Linked DNA regions of Homo sapiens: region 1 is linked to region 2. The links are contacts of gene promoters, found by promoter capture Hi-C in blood cells and fetal thymus (Javierre and others, 2016). All regions are on one chromosome and are shown on one strand. The core of a region is centred on a gene start or on the middle of the fragment in contact, and the rest is flanking DNA. Distances in the headings are between cores, read along the strand shown.

What was found. Contacts are between HindIII fragments. The CHiCAGO score rates a contact against its expected background, and 5 or more counts as called.
Region 1: a contact is called between a fragment that was not itself captured here and the fragment with the promoter of FAM110D in region 2, in 1 of 17 cell types (neutrophils). The highest score is 5.3, in neutrophils.

What each region holds. Positions count from the first base shown.
Region 1 is chr1:26,344,150-26,349,655 of GRCh38, forward strand. CRYBG2 (crystallin beta-gamma domain containing 2) reads right to left here. Exons shown (of 20, transcript NM_001039775.4): 2 at 1-2,563. The coding sequence starts at 2,508. Among named protein-coding and RNA genes, the nearest start is that of CRYBG2, 7.2 kb to the right of the region's middle. RefSeq lists enhancers at 2,178-2,931, 5,220-5,506. The HindIII fragment of the contact is 5,833 bases long and covers 1-5,456 here.
Region 2 is chr1:26,156,602-26,161,757 of GRCh38, forward strand. It overlaps FAM110D (family with sequence similarity 110 member D), which reads left to right and starts at 2,478. Exons shown (of 2, transcript NM_024869.3): 1 at 2,478-2,525; 2 at 4,611-5,156. The coding sequence starts at 4,691. RefSeq lists enhancers at 1-22, 23-752. The HindIII fragment of the contact is 9,541 bases long and covers 1-5,156 here.

The DNA.
Region 1 (5,506 bases), core at 1,290-3,789, 190 kb after region 2:
GTTCTCTGGTTCCTCCTCCTCCTCCTCCTCTTTCTCTTCCAGTGAAGGCACCTCCTGGGGTCCGGGGCCCAGCACCCATGGCCCCAGCTGGTCCTCCTCAATGGCAGGCAGCGTGGCGTACATGGACAGGTAGGAGGAGCGAGGGGCTCGTGGCAGCCGGTGAGTGCGGAGGATCTCAGGGGGCTCCATGCTCCGCAGCGTATCCAGGAATATCTCCAGGTCAGCGGCCAGGGCCACCTCATCCTCCTCCCTTGATGTCTCTGTGCACGTCTTGCCCTCGGTGGGATCAGAGACAAGCTGGGACTCCGTGCTGGCCTCTGCTCCTGTTGGCACTGGGGCAGGGGTGCCTCCTGGGCTGGGGGACACCCTGTCCACTGAGGAAGATGGGGCAGGGAGAGCATCAGGGTCCTGCACAACCTCTTTCTGGGTGAGAGATGAGATGGGGCTCCCTTCAGAGTCCTGGACCCCCTTATCCTGTTTGGGGAGTGAGGTGGCAGGAGCAATTGGGCCTTGAACAGTCTCTTCCTTGGTGAGGGGCGGGGCAAGGCTGCCTGCAATACCCTGGACAGCCTCTTTTTGGATGCTACTGCTGCCTTTTGGGCCCTGGACAACCTCAGTTGACTTGGGGGACAAGGCAGCAGGAGCACCAGACCCCTGCACCACCTCCTTCTGGGTGGGAGATGAGGCAGCAGGAGCACAGGGGCCCTTCACAACCTCTTTCTGGGTGGGCGATGAGGCAGCAGGAGCACCAGGGCCCTTCACAACCTCTTTTGGGGTGGTGGACAAGGCAGCAGGAGCACCAGACCCCTGCACCACCTCCTTCTGGGTGGGGGATGAGGCAGCAGGAGCACCAGGGCCCTTCACAACCTCTTTCCAGGTGGGAAATGAGGCATCAGGAGCACCGGGGCCCTTCACGACCTCTTTCCAGGTGGGGAACAAGGCAGCAGGAGCACTGGACCCCTGCACCACCTCCTTCTGGGTGGGAGATGAGGCAGCAGGAGCACCAGGGCCCTTCACGACCTCTTTCCAGGTGGGGGACGAGGCAGCAGAAGCACTGGACCCCTGCACCACCTCCTTCCGGGTGGGAGATGAGGCAGCAGGAGCACCGGGGCCCTTCACGACCTCCCTCTGGGTAAAGGGGAGGACAGGGACATTTTCAGAGTTCTGAACAAACTTATTCCTTGGGGACGATGGAGCAGAAAGACCTCCTGGGCTGGGGACATCCTTCCTTCTTGTAGTGGATGGAGCAGGAGGTTGTCCAGGGACTGTCACATGCTCGCTCCTCACCATGGGCAGGACGGTGGCAGCAGGGGGGTCCACGGGCCCGTCCTTTTTTTTAGGGGGCAGAACAAGGGGAGTGAGCCGGGCCCCGGGGTGAGTGGGCACCACAGGCTGCTTTGCAGGGTGAGTTAGGCCAGGAGAGGGGACATGGGTCTCGAGTCTGGGAGAGGAGGGGACTGATGCTTGACCCTGAGAAGTCTGGAGAGGGAGCTCAGTGGAACTGGGGGCTCCCAGCACCTGCCAGAGCTCACAGGCCCTGGCATCCGGGGCTCTGCCCTGGTCTCTGTCCGGACAGGCTGCAGGGGCATCCTGATTCTTAGGCAGGTGAGCACTGGCTGGGATGCCTGTAGAGGCCAGGGCAGAGCTGTCTTTAAGCTCTGCTGTCCCGGTCTCAGGCAGCTGCCTCAAGGCTGCCCCCACTGTGCTGCCCAGACCTGTGCTCCTTGGCCCGCCAGCCGTGGGCCTGGGCAGGTGACTGGCAGGGGGGCTGTGCCCAGCAGGCACGAGGTTACTTAGCACTTTCACGGCCTGGCTGCGGCTGGGCGAGCCTGGTGGGGAGCCCACCACCACTGGCGGCACCATGCGGGAGACCTGACGGCCCCGTGGCAGGGCCTCGCCTGAGGACACTGGCCTCACAGTCACAGAGCTGCTCATCCGCCGGTCCACATGACCTCCCACCACTGTGGTGGTCCGCACAGTGCGTGTCACTCGGTATTCCTCGAGGCTCCGGGAGCTACCACTGGTGAGACCTACACCTGGGTGGGGACTTGGCTCTCGGGGCCCAGGCAGGGGAACCAAAAGCTCAGTCCTGGCCATAGCTCCCACACATGGGGGCTCAGTCCTGGGAGCTTGGCGGCTGCCATCACTCTGGTCCACAGCCTCCTTCAGCCTCCCCTCAGGCCTTTTCTCCTTGGGAGGTGGTATGTACTTCTTGGAAAAGATGGGTCCATGGCTCTGGAAGTTCTTGGAGCCAGCTGTATCCCGAGGGCCCTGGCAATTCACAGTCTCTTCTTCCTGTGTTGCAAAGCCATTGACTTCCACTTCCTCTCGACGGCTGAACTCAAACATCTCCTTCTGCGGGGCTTCCATCTGGGCCCCTGACACCAGGGACACCTTGTGAAAACCATGTTTGATCTCTTCCTGGGTGGGGGGCCGCTGCCGCCATGTCAATGTGGCACTTACCACTCGGGCCTTGGCCCGGGCCATGGGCCCACCTGCCTCCTCCATGTGGGGCCCTGGCAACCTGTCTGGAGGTGTCCTTGTCCCACTGTGGTCCAGCTCCCTGCAGAGGAATAAGAAAGATGAGGGTCAGAGGGTGGTGAGAGTGGCTTCCTAAAGTGCAGAATAACCACCCCTACCCAAGTCAGGCTGGGAACCTCAGGCAAATCGCTTGGCCTTTTTGGGCCATTGCTTTCTCATCTGTGAAATGGGCATGGTAGTCTCAGCTCTGATTTGGTTGATCAGAGCCCCTCATCCATCCCTCTCCCTGACTTTCAGGTGATCTCCTAGGTCAGGGTCCTTCAAAGGTGAAGCTGAGGCCTGAGCCCAGAAGGAGAGAAAAGGAAGAAGGCAGAAGGGAAGATGCAGCTGACCCACAGGTCTATAGGGGGGCTGGGACTCTGCCCACAGAGCCCTAGGTCTAGTCCCCCAGGAGCTGAAAACTAGAAAGCCGAAAACTGGGCAAGCGTTGTTCTAACTCTGTTCAGGGAAGATGGGCTTTGGCCTCAAGCAGAGCTGGGTTCCTTAGTTGCTCACTAACTGGCCATTTCTTCTGTTCAAGCATCAGGGTCCTCAGCCACAAAACTGGAGTCTTGCCAGAGTCCAGTAAGAGAAACAATGAAACCTCCCCCTGCGTTTTTTTTTTTTTTTTTTTTTTTTTGTGAGACAGAATCTCACTCTGTTACCCAGGCTGGAGTGCAGTGGTATGATCTTAGCTCACTGCAGCCTTGAACTCCTGGGCTCAAGTGATCCTCCTGCCTCAGCCTCCCAAGTAGCTGGGACTACAGGCACACGCCGCCACACCCAGCTAGTTTTTATTTATTTATTTATTTTTATTTTTATTTATTTATTTTTTTTGAGACAGAGTCTCGCTCTGTCACCTAGGCTGGAGTGCAGTGGCATGATCTCGGCTCACTGCAAGCTCCACATCCCTGGTTCACGCCATTCTCCTGCCTCAGCCTCCCCAAGTAGCTGGGACTACAGGTGCCCTCCACCACGCCCAGATAATTTTTTTGTATTTTTTGTAGAGACGGGGTTTCGCCGTGTTAGCCAGGATGGTCTTGATCTCCTGACCTCATGATCCACCCGTCTTGGCCTCCCAAAGTGCTCGGATTACAAGTGTGAGCCACCGTGCCCAGCCCCAGCTAGTTTTTATTTTGTACTTTGAGGTCTTGTTATGTTGCCCATGCTGGTCTCGAACTCCTGGGCTGAAGTGATCCTCCCACCTTGGCCTTCCAAAATGTTGGGATTATGGATATATGCCACTACTGTGCCTGGCCTAACTTTTTATCTTTTTATTTTAATTTATTTTATAAGACTGAGTCTTGCTCTGTTGCCCAGGTTGAAGTGCAGTAGCTCACTGTAGCCTTGAACTCCTGGGCTGAAGTGATCCTTCTGCGTTAACTCTCCAAGTAATTGGGACTACAGGCACATGCCACCACACCCAAAATGCTCGCCTTATAACCTAAATTGCTGGCTCATCAACTTTCTGCTGTCACCTTGGAGATTTGTGACCAAATGTTAGCTGGTGTGCACACGTGTGTATGGGCATGAGCACCTGCTGATGGTCTCCAGAGCACAGGGGCAGGTCTGTGTGCAAGTGTAGGTCTAAATGGAGCCTCTCAGAGCTGGATGCAGTGGCTCACACCTGTAATCCCAGAACTTTGGGAGGCAGAGGTGGGAGGATTGCTTGAGGCCAGCAGTTCTAGACCAGCCTAGGTGACATAAAAAGACTCTACAAGTCTCTACAAAAAATTAAAAGAATTAGCCAGCATGGTGGTGTGTGCCTGTAGCCCTAGCTACCCTGGAGGCTGAGGTGGGAGGATCACTTGAGCCCAGGCTGCAATGAGCTATGATCGTGTCACTGCACTCCAGCCTGAGTGACAGAGAGATCTTATCGCTAAGAAAAGTTATCATTATTTTTTGAGACAGAGTCTCGCTCTGTCGCCCAGGCTGGAGTGCAGTGGCACGATCTCAGCCTACTGCAACCTCCTCCTCCCAGGTTCAAGCGATTCTCCTGCCTCAGCCTCCCGAGTAGCTGGGATTACAGGCATGTGCCACCATGCCCAGCTAATTTTTGTATTTTTAGTAGAGATGGGGTTTCACTATGTTGCCCAGGCTGGTCTCAAACTCCTGACCTCAAGTGATCCACCCGCCTTGGCCTCCCAAAGTGCTGGGATTATAGACGTGAGCCACTGCGCCCGGCCTAAAAAAAGTTTTTAATAAAAACAAAAATAAGGCTGGGTGCGGTGGCTCACGCCTGTAATCCCAGCACTTTGGGAGGCCGAGGCAGGCCGATCACCTGAGGTCAGGAGTTCGAGACCAGCCTGACTAACGTGATGAAACCTAGTCTCTACTAAAAATAAAAATATTATCCAGGCATGGTGGTGGGCACCTGTAATCCCAGCTACTTGGGAAGCTGAGGTAGGAGAATCGCTTGAACCTGGGGGGCGGAGGTTGCAGTGAGCTGAGATCACGCCTCTGCACTCCAGCCTGGGCAACAGAGCGAGACTCTGTCTCAAAATTAAAATTTTAAAAAAAAAGTAAATAAATGGAGCCCCTTGGCTCCGTTAGGGCACTTGGGCTTTACAAGGCACTCTTCCCTCGATTCTGTCCTCTGTGATTTTTTCCCTACTGAAGGTTAAGAAACCGAGGGTCAGAGAAGACGAGTGACTGGCCCAGGATGACGCGGCTATGAGGTTGTCAAGCAGGGATTTAAATTCCCATCTTCTGATTTCACATCCAGGCATCCTCCCTCCTACCCCCAGGCCACAGCTCTGGGGCATGTCCAGCTGCTCCTGTGATCATCCTCAGCAGAGCATGTCTCACCCTCCGTCCTGGAGGGGTGGGGCCTGGGTCTTGTTTCTTTTCTGACTCTTCCTTGATCTCTCTGGGTCTCCATAGCCTCCCTTACTAAATGTAGGATAATATTAACACCTGCCAAAGAAGACCTTCTAAGCTTCTGCTATGGCTTGAATATTTGTCCCCTCCAAAACTCATGTTGAAA
Region 2 (5,156 bases), core at 1,228-3,727:
TCCCAGAGCTGGGGCTGTCTCCCCTCCCTGACAAAACCCTCCCGAGCAGAGGTGGGGGCACTTCCGACTGAGGGCTTTGGCGTGGAGGACTGAGTCACCCTTGTCAGACCAGAGCTGCCCCAGGGTGTCACCTGCGTTGCACCCTGAGTCCCCTCTTTCTGTAGTCCAGCATCTGTCCTCGATCCCTAGAAGGGAGCTGTGAAGGGGCCCCTACCGGTCCTACCACCCAACCTGGATGCTCCTTTAAGACCAAAGGGATGGGGGTTGCAGAGTCAGACACAACAGCCCCATCCTCCCCCCAGGCGGCGGGCCAGGTTTCCTGCCATTGACAGCATCCCAGCTGGCCCTGCCCACCTCCCATGCTTAACCCCTTCCTGACCAGATCTCAGAGCCAAGCTGGCACCCTCAGCCTTCACCTAGAAAGTTAGGAGAATGAAAGTGACTTTTTTTGTTTTTCTTTTTTGCAGCTTTGTCACCCAGGCTGGAGTGCAGTGGTGTGATCTTGGCTCACTGCAACCTCCGCCTCCTGGGTTCAAGTGATTCTCCTGCCCCAGCCTCCCTAGTAGCTGAGATTACAGGAGCGCACCACCACGCCCAGCTAATTTTTGTATTTTTAGTAGAGACAGGGTTTCGCCGTGTTGGCCAGGCTGGTCTCCAGCTCCTGGCCTCAAGTGATCGGCCCGCCTTCACCTCCCAAAGTGCTGGGATTACAGGTGTGAGCCACCTCGCCCGGCCCGAAAGTGCCATTTCATCGGGTTGTTTTGAGGATTAAATATGTTAATCCTTATGTGAGGTACTTAGAATAGCCCCTAACATATATTAATCTCTCAATAAAAGTTAGCTATTGGCCGGGAGAGGTGGCTCACACCTGTAATCCCAGCACTTTGGGAGGCCGAGGCCGGCAGATCGCAAGGTCAGAAGTTCAAGATCAGCCTGAGCAACATGGTAAAACCCTGTCTCTACTAAAAACACAAAATTAGCCAGGCACTTGCCTGTTATCCCAGCTACTCGGGAGGCTGAGGCAGGATAATCGCTTGAACCCAGGAGGCGGAGGTTGCAGTGAGCCAAGATCACGTCACGGCACTCCAGCCTGGGTGACAGAGTTTGGTGAGCTTGGATAAGTCATTTCTCCTCTCTGAGCCTCAGTCTCTTCAGCCGTAAGTGTGAAAAATAATAAAACCTCCCCCAAAGATTGTCATGGGGATTATGACAAAGCAGCTAATGGCATTTTGAAAAGTGCTGTAGCAACAAAATATGGAACTATCACCAACAAAATCCCCCCTTTAGGTAATAAAAACCTTTTACCGGGAGATGGGCCTTGGGTTTTCAGACCCACTACTGACTTGACAGGCAGAGGATGCAGTTCCAAATGTGGATTTGGAGCTGGGCTTTGGGCATCTCTCTCCCCCCTCAGCTCCTGTTTCCTTACTCATTAAGTGGGGGGTCATTCCTGCTGGACGCCTGTCTAGGGTCCTTGTTTGGGGGCGGTCAAAGGAGATCAGAGAGCACAGACGGGAATGTGCTTTGCAAACATGAAAGAGGGCTAGAAAGGAGGAGGAGGGACTTGGGGAAGGTGGCCAGCCAAGGGGGGAAAGGAACCTTTGGCCTGAGCACTGGTCTTAGTCTGGGCTGGAGAGTTTAGTTTGCCTGCTGGGGAGAGGGGAGGTGTCTCCTATGAGGTAGGGTTTCACCTTGAGACATAAGGTGTCAGAGAAGAAACTCTGATGGAAGAAGCTCTAAGAGGCTCCAAGTGTGGGCAGAGAAGGAAGCGGGCCAAAGGACCTGGGCTTGGCCCTGGAATCAGCCCCTCATCACTGTCTTCCCAGGCAATCCCATCTGCCATGAAAGGACCTTGGCAGAGGCAGCTCCAGTGGGCTCCAGGGTCACCTTCATGACAAGACTTGCCGCCACAGGCTCACCTGCACATCTATAGCACCAATGCCCCCACCCTTAGGCTGCAGATTCCTGGTCTCGCCCCCAGGGAAAGCAGGCTTGACACCACCCAGCACCCAGACCAAGACAGGTCTCAGCCTGCTACAGAGGGAAAAAAGCAAGTTGACTAGAACCCTGTTCTGCCTTCCCATTCAGACTGTCAGAGCATCTGCCACAGCCCAGGGAGGGGGCTGATCCCACATACGGAGCCCCCACCCCAGGCCTTTGGAGGAAGCCTGGGGATCAGGAGGCCTTGTTTGGAGTCCTGGCTCTGCCCAAGCTCACAGTGCTTCCACAGCCAATCACCTAACCGGGCTGGGACTGTTTGACCATCTGTAAAATAAAAGGAGCTGGACTTGGTTCACAGGTCTCCACAGCGCAGGACTGTGATCAGGAAAGAGTTAATGGAGGCCAGGATCTGCCTCAGGAAGGCGAGGGTTAATTTGGGGGGCGGGGGGTGGAGGCTTTCTCTGCTTTTCCTGTGGAGAGTGAGGTTTGGCTGCCACCAAAGTTACTTCTAGTCCTTGCTGTCCACTCCTGCCCTCAGTCTGGACCTGCCCAAGGACCCCTGCAATTAGGCCTCCCATGCAGAGGTGAGTGTACCCTGAGCCCAGGGCTGGGGTAAGAAGGAACCCAGGGGCCTGAGGGCAGGGAGACTGGTGCCAAACTAGTGAGCCTAAAAGATGGCCCATGCCCAGAGCAGAAGCCTTGGGCAGAGTTGAGACCACAAGTTTCAGGACTGGGAGAAGGCAGGCAAAGGAATGGAGGGCCCGAGGCTGCCTGCCAGGCTTCTAGGGCGGGATGTCTGAGGTCCGGCCTCCAGGCTAGCCCAGAAGGCAGGGAAGAGGCTGTGGATGACAGACTATTTTGGTCCTTGTGATTAGGAACTTTTTATAGTCTCCCTGCTCAGGGCTGGGGAGAAGAGGAGAGGACAGAGGGCACCCATGGGGTCAGACAAGCAGTGCCTTCCTGGGACCTTGGAATCTGACCCACTGCCAAGGAGACTCCCTGGGAGACAGGGAGGGGGACACTGCCAGACTCTCCTTGGTTCCCAGGCCTCAACTACCTATGAGCAGACTGACTACACACTAGATGCTGGGTGCAGGGGTGGGCTGGACCTGGCAGGGTCTCTGCCCCAAGGCCTCTCACAGACTCCTTCCCCACTTCCCTGGCTAATTCTGTTCCTTTGTTGTCCCCAGATCCAAGGTCCCTCAGCCTCCAGGACTCAGGGGGAGTAGGGGAAGATAGGGGTGGGGTCGGGTGTGCAGGGCCATGTGGGTGGCCCATTCTGTTACTGCCAAGAGAACTGTCAGCTCTTGATTTACAACCCCTCCTCGCTCCTTGCCCCAGCAGAAGGGAGGTGGAAAAGGGTCATGAGGTCTTAGGATAAAAAAGGGACAAGGACCCTGGGGGCAAATTTCTGGGAGTGGGAGCGCAGGTTATTAGGAAGAATTAGTGGAAGGAACTTTTTAGTGAGGCAAGGGGCCCATTTCTAACGGAAATTGCTTGGTTTTATAGCAGCGGGAATACACGCAAAATATCAGTGAGTTCTTTTTTTTTTTCTTTTTTTTTTTTTGAGACGGAGTCTCGCTCTGTTGCCCAGGCTGGAGTGCAGTGGTGCGCGATCTCGGCTCACTGCAACCTCCGCCTCCCAGCTTCAAGCGATTCTCCTGCCTCAGCTTCCCAAGTAGCTGGGATTACAGGTGTGCGCCACCCCGCCTGGCTAATTTTTGTATTTTCAGTAGAGATGGGGTTTTGCCATGTTGGCCAGGCTGGTCTGGAACTCCTCACCTAAGGTAATTCACCCACCTCGGCCTCCCAAAGTGCTGGGATTACAGGCATGAGCCATCGCGCCTGGCCTCAGTGGGAAGTTCTGATAGGCAAGTGAGAGATCCAATCTGAACTGCAAGGCAAGAAACCTGGGTGACAAAGCAAGACTCCGTCTAAAGAAAAAAAAAAAAGAAACCTGGGTTCCAGTCCTGGCTCCTAACTCTCAATAGGACCTGAGCAAGCCCCCCTCCTCTCCAAGCCAGTTTCCTCTTCATGAAATGGAAATGCAAAGGTTAAACAAGGTGATGTTTACAGTTTGGCATTCTGCGATCCCCTTGGCAGGGGCAGAGTAGCTGGCAGTAGCTGATAGGGCCTGGGGACCACCTCCCTCTCCTGCCCCGATGGCCCTGCTGGGCCTGGGCAGGGCAGTTGGCTGCAATTACTGGAGGCTCCTACCCTGTGGTTATATCCCCGACCTCGGTGTTTGGGGGCGGGAAGGGTGGGCCCTGCTGGAGCCAGCCTGTGGCTGGGAGCCTTCTTGTCTTGGGCTCAAAGCTGCTGGGTTGGGAAGAGGTATTTTTTCCGGTTGAAGCCACTTTCAGGAATTGGGCCGGGACCAGCCCTGTTTCCTTTTCCAAGTGTCCTGCTTGCTAAGGCCTGCTTGCACGACCCTGTGGCCAGATTGGGGCACCTTCAAAGGGGAATATGTTTCTGAGTGGCCAGAGAGACCCCACTCAATGTCTCTGAAGGACAGGGAAAGGGGATGGCCTGAGCCTCTGCTCCCTGGATGTGGCACCGGCTAACCTGGATGGGAGAGGGTGGCTGACTGATCCTATACTGAGGAATGCCGGCAGGAGAGGACCAGGGGCATTTCCTACCCTTCCCCTGACCTTCCTCTCTCCCTGCAGGTCAGTGAGAGCCCAAGCCAATTGCTCTAGGCCCCGTGGCTGGCTACTTATGGGGCACTGTCCTGACCAGCTCTGCTAAGATGCTCCTGGCCCCTCCCTCCACCCCGTCCAGAGGACGGACCCCCAGCGCCGTGGAGAGGCTGGAAGCCGACAAAGCCAAGTATGTCAAGACGCACCAGGTGATAGCTAGGCGACAGGAGCCAGCCCTGCGTGGGAGTCCTGGGCCGCTCACGCCGCACCCCTGCAACGAGCTGGGGCCCCCTGCATCGCCCAGGACGCCCAGGCCGGTCCGCCGGGGAAGCGGCAGGCGGCTGCCGAGGCCTGATTCCCTCATCTTCTACCGCCAGAAGCGGGACTGCAAGGCTTCGGTGAACAAAGAGAACGCCAAGGGCCAGGGTCTGGTGCGGCGCCTCTTTCTGGGTGCCCCGCGGGACGCTGCCCCGAGCAGCCCGGCCTCCACAGAGCGACCTGCGGCTTCAGGGGGTTGGGCTGCGCCCCAGGATGCCCCGGAAGCGGCGGGAAAGCGGGCGCTGTGTCCCACGTGCT